Regions from separate parts of the Homo sapiens genome. Here region 2 is linked to region 1. The links are contacts of gene promoters, found by promoter capture Hi-C in blood cells and fetal thymus (Javierre and others, 2016). All regions are on one chromosome and are shown on one strand. Each heading gives the region's core, a stretch centred on a gene start or on the middle of the fragment in contact. The rest is flanking DNA. Distances are from core to core; before and after follow the strand shown. Region 1 holds the start of ATP6V0E1 (ATPase H+ transporting V0 subunit e1). Region 2 has its middle 52 kb from the start of DUSP1.

The links. Contacts are between HindIII fragments. The CHiCAGO score rates a contact against its expected background, and 5 or more counts as called.
Region 2: a fragment that was not itself captured here is called in contact with the fragment with the promoter of ATP6V0E1 in region 1 in 1 of 17 cell types (neutrophils); the score reaches 8.6 in neutrophils.

The regions. Positions count from the first base shown.
Region 1 is chr5:172,980,935-172,986,002 of GRCh38, reverse strand. It overlaps ATP6V0E1 (ATPase H+ transporting V0 subunit e1), which reads right to left and starts at 2,232. Exons shown (of 4, transcript NM_003945.4): 1 at 2,039-2,232. The coding sequence starts at 2,142. RefSeq lists a silencer at 2,178-2,357 and an enhancer at 2,123-2,417. The HindIII fragment of the contact is 8,334 bases long and covers 1-3,964 here.
Region 2 is chr5:172,716,282-172,721,688 of GRCh38, reverse strand. No RefSeq gene overlaps it. Among named protein-coding and RNA genes, the nearest start is that of DUSP1, 52 kb to the left of the region's middle. The HindIII fragment of the contact is 5,498 bases long and covers 1,059-5,407 here.

The DNA of each region.
Region 1 (5,068 bases), core at 983-3,482:
GTGTTACATTTGTCTATACAGTATTTAAGGACAGTAACATGCTGTACAGGTGTGTAGCCTACCTAGAGGCAACAGGTTCTACCAAATAGCCTAGGTGTGTAGTAGGCTGTACCATCTGTTTAAGTAAACTCTTTGTTCACACAAAAGCCCAACTAACACATTTCTCAAACATAGTCCTTTTGTTAAGTGACACATGTCTATATATCACTAGCTGGTCAAATACCTGAATCATGACACTCTCTAGGGCTAAGTGGAAACAGGATGGGTTTCATTACCCTGGATAATGGCAATGACATCCCAAGGAAGGGGAGAGAATGGTCTTTAAGAAAGGAATTGTCAGTGCTATTAGTACATTAATAAATGCTTCTTTGAGTACAAAGGCCATAAAGGCAGACAGTAGGGTAATGAAACAGTTGAAGATATAAACACAACAAAGAAGCACTTTGTTGTTCGCTAACTCCAGTAGGAAAAACAAGTCTAATTAACTTTGGTAAATACAATTGCTTTAATAATGCCAGAATTCTGACTCTGTCCATCAACCTCTATAGGTAGGAGAGATGACCCCATATAACTGGTGTTACCAGGGAGGAGGAACTTGATACTTAAAAATGATAAAAATTCATCTACCATGTATCTTTTAAAAAAAAATAATTTTAGACTAATAAAGCAAATGTATCCCAGGGAGCAAAAGGGGTTCAGGTCACAAAATATTAGGGAAGTAGTAAAAATCTTTTTCTTTCTTTTTTTTTTTTTTTTTTGAGACGGAGTCTCGCTCTGTCGCCCAGGCTGGAGTGCAGTGGCGCGATCTCGGCTCACTGCAAGCTCTGCCTCCTGGGTTCACGCCATTCTCCTGCCTCAGCCTCCCGAGTAGCTGGGATTACAGGCGCCCGCCACCACGCCCGGCTAATTTTTTGTGTTTTTAGTAGAGACGGGTTTCACCGTGTTAGCCAGGATGGTCTCGATCTCCTGACCTCGTGATCCGCCCGCCTTGGCCTCCCAAAGTGCTGGGATTACAGGCGTGAGCCACGGCACCTGGCCAAAAATCTTTTTCTTTTAATAAAGACAATAGAACTATTCACTCAACAGGTATTTATTGGGTGCCTCCTGTGCATACAAGGTACTATGAAAACCAGGCACTATGAAGCCACCAATTAGGTTCAAGAATAAAGCAAGAGATGGTGTTTCTGACAAACTGACTTCAGTCGAAGTTTCACCTCTCATCATCTTGAACTGAGAAAAAAATGACTGAGAAGCAAAAGAGGAACCAGGAAGAGGGTGTTCCAAGGCTCCTTTGAAGATTAAGCCTCTATTTTATACTACAGTTAAAAAGTTTAATTCCAAAAGAGACAAAGCTCTAACCAACAAAGAAGTCTGGAAAAACAAAATCTTTCTTAGCCAATCATTCTAAGCACTTCTTACACTCACATACAAGAGCCGGAGCGCCCTCCAAAAGGCATGACGCAGGGGTTTCTCAACAATACCTCCTGCTCTTTGGTAATTAATCTCGCTTTAGATCAGGCCCCAACCGCCTCCTGGCGCCCACTAGATGCAAGGCCTGGGCTCAATGTTGTCGAAGGAGCTTGTTCTGTACGCAACCGCGACAGCATGGGAGGCAGAGAAGCCAATTTCTGTTTTATTTATTTGATCCTTAAGTTCAGGCAAACGAGGCCTCATGTGGGTGGAAGGCAGGGCTAAAGGGGGACAGTCGACTAGGGACAAACCCCAGTTTCTCCCAGATTCGGCCTGCTCATTTCCGACTGCACCTCCCCACACAGGACTATGATGAGAAAAAATTCCCCTGAAACTCGTTTCCAAGGGGGGTCCACCAAAGGTCACCCTCCACTCGCTCAGGCCGGAGGACACTGAAGCTGCTGCGAAAAGGAACACAAGGAGTTCCGCCGGGTCGGGGGCCTGACTCTGCAGCGCGGGGGGCGCCCATGCAACGTTCTCTGACCCGTGTGGGGGTCGTGCCTTTCCCCGCCCCGGCCTGCTAGCTCCTCACCGCCCGTTCCTCCCAAGGCGGGCCTCACGCACTTACCCCCGGTTAGGACCCTTAGGGATGAACCAAGGCACCAAGAAGCCGACGAAGCCCCAGAACACGCTCATCACAATGAGAGGCACAGTGAGGCCGTGATACGCCATGGTCGCCGCCTGAGCGCCAACCCCTACCCCGTCGCCTCACTCGGATCCCACCAGGAAGTGTCAATAGCTGACCGCGTGACCAGCGTGTGCAAGCCCCGCCTCCCGCGCCCCCACGTGACCCGCGCGCCGGCCTCCGCCCCTCGGGGAGCCCAGAGGCAGAGCCCCGCCTTCGCCTGGCTGTCTCCTGGCTGCAGCTCCTTGGAGGCATGTCGCTCACCCCAGAGCTAGGGATTCGGTCACCCGGGGCTCAGCAAAGTGTTCTGATGAGAACTTGGCCCTTTTAGACAAAGAGTGTAGTTATCTACAGCCTCATCTACTTATGCAACAGACATAGAGAACTTAACAATAGTTGTCCCTTACTATTCTGAATTCCCGTGTGCCTGGCACTGGGCCATGATCTTTAAGTTCATGAGCCCCAGGCCGGGTGCGGTGGCTCACGCCTGTAATCCCAGCACTTTGGCAGGCTGAGGCAGGCGGATCACTTGAGGTCAGGAGTTCGAGACCAGCCTGGCCAACATGGTGTAACCCTGTCTCTACTAAAAATACAAAAATTAGCTGGGTGTGGTGGTGCGCGCCTGTGGTCCCAGCTACTCAGGAGGCTGAGGCAGGAGAATCAATTGAACTCGGGAGGTGGAGGTTGCAGTGAGCCGAGATTGCGCCACTGCACTCCAGCCTGGGCAACAGAACAACACTCTGTCTCAAAAGAAAAAAAAAAAAGTGCATGAGCCCGTGTTGAACTCCTCACTTCAGCCTATGAGGTAATTGTAATTATTATCCCCACTTTGCAGTTGAAGAAACTGAGGCCCAGGGAAGAGGATAAGGATCTTGCCCAAAGTCACATAGTAAGTGGCAGGGCCAGGATTCAACCCCTGATTATCTGATTTTCAAGGCCAGAGCTCTTAACTAGCGCACCACTATTTATCTTGTGTGCTGTGCCAGGCTCTGGAGTTACAGAAGTCAATCAGGCACCCCTGAGGGAGTTCACATTCTGGGGAGCAGATGACCTTGCAAACAGGCGACTCAATGCAGTGTGAAAGTAAGTGGACGACCCTGCAAGGCTTTCTACCCAACTCGTCCTTGCTGAGCCTTGAAAGACAAGTAGAAATTAGCCAGAATGGTAAGAAGAAAAACAGGCCAGGCATGGTGGCTCACACCTGTAATCCCAGCACTTTGGGAGGCCGAGGCGGGCAGATCACCTGAGGTCAGTAGTTCAAGACTAGCCTGGGCAACATGGTGAAATCCCATCTCTACTAAAAATACAAAAATTGGCCAGGTATGCACCTGTAGTCCCAGCCACTCAGGAGGCTGAGGAACAAGAACCGCTTGAATCCCTGGGAGGCAGAGGTTATAATGAGCTGAGATCGCACCACTGCACTCCAGCCTTGGCGACAGAGTGAAACTCTGCCTCAAAAAAAAAAAAAAAAAGAAAGAAAGAAAAAGAAAGGTAAAACAGTTTTGTTTGTTTGTTTGTTTTTTGAGACAGGGCCTTGCTCTGTCACCCAGGCTGGAGTGCAGTGGTGCTCCATAGCTCACTGCTGCCTGGAACTCCCGGGCTCAAGCCATCCTTCTGCCTCAGCCTCCTGAGGAGCTGGGACTACAGGTGTGCACCACCACACCAGCTAATTTTTAAAATGTTTTGTAGAGACAGAGCCTCGCTATGTTGCCCCGGTGGGTCTTAAACTCCTGGCCTGAAGGGATCCTCCACCTCAGCCTCCCAAAGTGCCGGGATTACTGGCATAAGCCACCGTGCTGAGCTGATAAACAGGGCTTAGAACGCTTGCTGAGAATTTTCACATATGTTAGTTATAGTATGCGCCAAGCTTGGAATAGACAAGGAAGCCAGTTCTCAGAGAGGTTGAGGAGCTTGATGATAAAGCTTACAGGTGAAAGCAAGATAGAAAGCAGGTCTTTAAATGCAATGTGCTTTACCAGGGACCATGGTTTCCTTGCAGTAGCCACATTGCATTAACTCCTGATTTCTTTCATCAAGTAGAATGGATTCCTGTATTAAACGGGAAACTGGACCAATAATCTTCAACATCTGTACCAACTTTTCGGACATGATTCTAAGCCTTTAACCTGATCAGCAATGTAGAAAACTAGTTTGTCTCCTTTGTGCTCATAATGCTTCCCCAAAACTTAGCCCCAGCAGAAATCCTATGGTCCTTAAGTTCTAGCCCAAACACCGCCTTCTCCAAGACCCATTTCATCCTGTTAGCGCATCTCTTTGGCCTTGTTGTATATGTATCTTGACCAACCCTCTACTAGAGGGCCAACTCCTTGAGAATAGGCACTGTTTCACTGATCTTTGTTTCCGGGAGGACTTTATACATAGAATGTGCTCAATAAATAACTGTGCAACTGAATTGAGTAGCTAAGAAGGGATGAGGTCAGAACAAAATTAGAGAAAGAAGTTCATTTCTACTTTCTCCTTCCTTCCTTCCTTCCTTCCTTCCTTCCTTCCTTCCTTCCTTCCTCTCTCTTTCTTTCTTTCTTTTTTCTTTTTTTGATGGAATCTCACTCTGTTGCCCAGGCTGGAGTGCAGTAGCATGACAATGGCTCGCTGCAACCTCCACCTCCCTGGTTCAAGCGATTCTCCTGCTGCAGCCTCCTGAGTAGCTGGGATTTACCAGCGCCCTCCACCACACCAGGCTATTTTTTTTTTTTTGTATTTTTAGGAGAGATGGGGTTTCACCATGTTGGCCAGGCTGGTCTCAAACTCCTGACCTCAAGTGATCCGCCCACCTCGGCCTCCCAAAGTGCTGGGATAATAGGAGTGAGCCACCATGCCCAGCCCCTTTCTTTCTTTTTTTTGAGGCAGAGTCGTGCTCTGTCACCCAGGCTGGCATATGGTGGTACAATCATAGCTTACTACTGCCTTGAACTCCTGGGCTCAAGGGATCTTCCCACCTCGGCCTCCATAGTA
Region 2 (5,407 bases), core at 2,558-5,057, 270 kb after region 1:
CACCTGGCTCCAGAGTTTGTGCCCTTGGCCACGTGGCCAGGCAGGCCCCTTTTGCAGAAGAGAACACTTGAGGTGTCAAGGGACACCAGTGAGTCTGGGACGGATGAGGGGCTGAGTATGAGGATGTGCCCAGTGCTGCTGAGATGGACTCCAAGTCCGGGTGAGATACAGGCCCTTCTTGTCCCCTGAATGGCTCACCTCGCCCCGTTGGGACAAACGTGCTCTCCTTTCTCACAAACAACAAGAAATATTTCTCATGTGACATTTCTCATAGGCTAGACCACTGCTCCTTTGTGGAGAAATGTGGGCTAGCCTGAGAACCTCAGGAACCAAGAAGGTGGGACCCTGGGACCCACCCCTGGGCCCCTCCCACTGGGCTAGCCTCTTAAACTCTGTCTCCCTGAGTCTTCACAACCACTCTGTGATGGAAACACAACTCTTCCATTTTACAGGTGGGGAAACCGAGGCCTGGAGAGGTGGAGTGACTTGCCCACGGTGACAGAAGAGGCAGGGTCAAAGTTTGAACTCAGGAGCTGGGGACACTTGTTGGCTGCCTACCCAGCAGCCATTCCTTCTAACAATCCCCAGATCTCCTTCTAAGTACCTACCACCACCCCCCGACCACAGCCAGCATGCTTGGAGGGGAGCCCCCTCAACTCCAAGGAGGGCTCTGATGGGCTGGAACCAGATAATGCCTCCCATTCCCTTGGCCACAGGCATTGGTTCAGGGGTAGTCGTGTGACCCAAGACTGTCCAATGAGAACAACTGCCCAATGGACTCCTGGATGGATATTGGAATATGTCCCCTCCTATAGCGGAATGAGAAGCATGTGCCATGCGCTCAGGGTAACACTGACTTGGGAACCTATGAAGAGGACAGAGGTCCTCGAAAGCTTCACCCAGCTCCTTGACAGCCTGCACCACTCTGAAGATTCAGCTCTGCTCACACCAGCCAACAAGCTCCCTTGTTATCTAAGTCAGGTGGAGGCTTGGAGTTGGGTTTCCTTTCCTGCAGCTAGAAACGTTCTGAAACTGCAGTACTTCTGGATTCCAAAGCTTGAGTCCTTTCCCTAGCATAAGGTGCTTCTCTGCATATCCATATTCCAAAAGTCGAACACTTTGGCACCATTTTCCTCTATGTTTTGAGTTCCAGACACCAGGTTTACAAAGGATTGCTGCATGACAACTTTGCTTGAGGTGAGGACCCTTCCCAGCATGTTTCCTTGCTGCCCCAAGTTTAAAAATAATTACATGCATGAAAGAACACTTCACAGACTGTAAGGTGCTCTCTACCTTCCCTCCCTCCCTTCCACAAATAATAACTAGCTGCTGTGCCAGGCATTACAGATACGGAGGTGAATAAGTCCCAAAGCTCATTCTCTTGGAATTCACAGTCCAGCTGGGGAGGCAGACTAGTAACCAGCTAATTATCGCCTATGGTAATTGTCTTGATGGTAGAGTTCAGCATAGCATGTAATTGGGGCAGAAAGGAGTGGGACTACCTTGCCCCGCCTAAACGTAAGTGGGTGGATCAGAGACAGTTGAGGCCAGAGCTACACCTTGAAGACACCGTAGGAACTACTGGAGTGAAGAAGGTTGGTAAGGTGTCCCTAACAGAGGGCTCAGCCTGTGTAAATGTGTGTGGGCCTTAGAAAGCACATATGGTCTGTTTGTTCAGGAAAACGTAAGCATGTCAGGATGGTGGAGGGCAGGGTGCAGAGAGTGGAAGGTGGAGGCACAAGGTTGGAGAAGTCTGCGGGGCAGGGGATGAAGGAACCAGAAGGCCAAGCCAGTGTCTGGGACAGGATCCCGCACCACTGGGGAGCCACCTAAGGATTCCAAAAAACAGCGTGACACAGTCAGATTGCATTTGGGGAAGGGCACTCAGGGCACTCGAGACATAGCTTGGAGCGGCAGGTCTGAGTCTACACCTGAGGACCCTTGAGTCCGGCCTGACAGTCCCGTACCCCAAGCCTCTGGCCCCTCCAGAACCATTTGACCCCACCAACTCCCACCCAAGCCAACTGTGAGCCATTTTCTGACTGGGTGGTCTTGGACAAGTCACTTCCCCTCTGGAAGCATCTGTTTCTCCATCTGCACCATGAGTAGAGTCCCACTGGCTTCAAGGACCATGGTTGGAAGCTCAGTCATGGCACCACAAGTGAGAGTCCTTCATGCCTATACAGAGCCGTGTTCATGCATGAGGTGGGTGTTTGCGCCCAGTTTCTCAAACTCCCATGGCTCCTGGCTGAGTCAGAGCCTTGACGTGCTTTGCTGCCCTGGTCCCAGCTTCAGGGACTACACCCTCTCCCTGTTCTTTACAAGAGATGCTCCAGGTCACGTCTTGGGGTTTACTCATCATTGCTCTGTGCACATTAGATGTTGCCAGAATTTGCTGATGGCCCATCCCCAGCACTGGCACCTAACCCCTTTTCCCCACCATAGCCCCACACTGGAGGACTTATTTACCTGGGTCACTGCTGCCATCTTTTATTCTGACCTCCTTCCTGTGGGTCAAAAAGCAAACACAGGCTTAGGTCAAGTAGTCTTTCAAACATCCATCCATCCATCCATCCATCCATCCATCCATCCATCCATCCACCCTGTCCAACCATCCATCCATGCATCCATCCTGTCCATCCACCCACCCATGCATCCATGCATCTATTCATCTATCCATCCATCCATCCTATCCAATCCATCCATCCTATCCATCCATCCATCCAATCCATCCATCCATCCATCCTGTCCATCCATCCATCCCTCGTGTCCATCCATCCATTCATCCATCCATGCATCCATCCATCTATTCATCCATTCATCCATCCTATCCATCCATCCAATCCATCCATACATCCATCCATCCATCCATACATACATACATCCATGCATCCATCCATCTGTTCATCCATCCATCCAATCCATCCATCCATCCATCCATCCATCTACCCATCCATCCATCCATCCATACATCCATGCATCCATCCATCTATTCATACATCCATCCTGTCCATCCATCCATCCATCCCATCCATCCATCCATCCATCCATCCACTAATCTTCCTTCCACCCATTCGTCATTCATCCATTTGTCCACCATCATCATCCATCCATTCGACTTCTATCCATCCACCCATCCATTCATCTATCTGTCTTTCCATCCATCCATCCATCCACCTATCTTCACTGAGCCCCTTCTCCATGCACACACTGTGCTCAGCTGTGAGGAGAGGGGGATGAAGATGGGTCTGTGCCTGCTCTCATGAGTGGTGTGCTTGTTCAGAATGGTGTAAGCACATCTGTGTGGTGAAGGGTAGGGTGAAAGGTTAGGGGGGTTGAGGCAGGAGGCTGGGGAGACCCACTGGGGTCAGGGTATAGTCTGGTGGGGGAGATGAATGTACACAAGTAGGTCTGATAACTTTAGATGGTCAGAGTGTCATGAAAGGAGGAAACAGGATCCAGCCATCCAGGGAGAGATGGGGATTCGTGGGAGTGCTGGAGGTGGAATAGAGCAGGATCCCCGAGGGATGTGGAGTGGATTTGCTGACAGGTGGGCTCAGGGGCAAACTGAAGCCAGATTATTTGTGGGGCCCAAGGAAAATGGCGTTCCAGAGGGCTCTGAGGCTTCTGGGCACAGGGGGCCACCTGCCCAAATGGGGAAGACCTGGGTTCAGGTCTCAGGGTTGCCAATCCCCGACTGTGACCTTGGGCAGGTCACCTCCCCTCTTGGATGCCAGTTGCATGACCTCTAGAATCCTCCTGATGGTGACAATGTACCTAAAATAGCATAAAGCAGCCCAGCCCACCGAGGACGTGCCAAATGCATGCCCACTCTCACTGAGCATTCTCTCTTCCTTCTTCCACCAGTGGCCCTGGGAACTCCCAGGGCCCCTGAAAACACTGTTGGCTGCGGTCCCTTCTGCAGTTTCCCCACCTATAAAATGGGACAATGCCAGTGCCTGGCACCTAGTAAGTGCTCAGTAAGCATTAGTGGTGGCTGTGGTTGCTGCAGCAGTTGACCGGCCCTTTAGTCTGTACCTCGCAGACCCGCTTCTGATTCTGGCCACATCTGCCCCCACCCGACTGCTTCCTCTTGTCTCTTCTCCCTGATATGCTGGGCTGCGTGTCCGAGGGTCCTTGCTCCGGCGGCCCCCTCCACACCGGCCCTTCCCTCTGACCACCTCCCGCCTTCTCCTCACCCCAGCTCCTCCGTCCCTCTATCCCACCACCCTGTTGTATTTTCTCCCGATGCTTGCCAGGATCTGAAAGCATCTTTTTTTTTCTTCTTTCTCTTGTTTATTTCTGTGTCCTCACGTAGTTTGGAGGTTCCAGAGGGCACAGCCTTTCAAAGGTCTTCTTCCCTGGGCATCTCCAGTTCATCGTACAGAGCCCAGCACACAGTAGGTGCACAGTGCCTATTTGTAAGAAGGAAGGAAGGAAGAAACGAAGGGAGGGAGGAGGCAGGAGAGACAAAGGGAGGGAGAGAAAGGCAGTGGAGGCCTGTTGGGGAGGGCGGGGTGGCTGGTGGGGAGGAGCCCCAGGTCCGCAGCCCCAGTGGTGGACCTGAGAACATTGTTGGGGTGTTCAGGAAGCATCTGCCCAGGGAATTAACAGAGCTGGAAACCATCCGGGCGTCTAAGTTTGGCTTCTTCCCGATGATGTGAAGACCATGCTTAGCGCTCTCTTGGGAGCCGACAAGGGGGTCTCTAGCGCCACCTTCCGGGCATCCGGGAAATGTCCGTACAGTCCCACCAAGGCCCACCTGCCGCCTCGACATTCATAAATAAACGCCAACAATGACAGCGACAGCAACAACAGCTCCGCTTTATTAAATGGTTACTCTGCGTCAGACAGCGTACCAGGTACTTGAAAGATATGATGTCCTAACCTCCAGACCCCTTGAAATGCGGCTGGTTATTACCCTCATTTATTTACGCAGACAGATGAGGAAACTGAGACTCAGAGAAAAAGAACCGCTCAGCCCAGGTCGCATAACCAGTGAGTGGCAGGTCTGGATTCTAACTCAGGTCTCTCTGGCCCCAAAGTGCAGAGCCCCAAAGGGCTGAGCCGTGCTCTGGAGAAAGGCAGAGAGGGAAAGGGAGGGTGGGCAGGGCTGGGGCTGAGGGCACAGCAGGCTCCCAGGAAGGCCCCTAGCGGTCACTCCCTTGCAGGGACTATGCTGTCCCAAGGCCTTGCTCTGAGCCCTCCTCAGGACCCCTCCCAGCCTCCCTGAGCATGAGCTCCTTCATCCAATGTCACAGTTGGGGGAACTGAGGCGCACAGGGTGGAGACCCTGGAGAGGTCACCTCCCCTCTTGGATGTCAGTTTCATTACCTCTAGAATCTTCCTGATGGTGATAATATACCTAAAATCTCATCGAGCAGCCCAGCCCACCTAGGACGTGCCA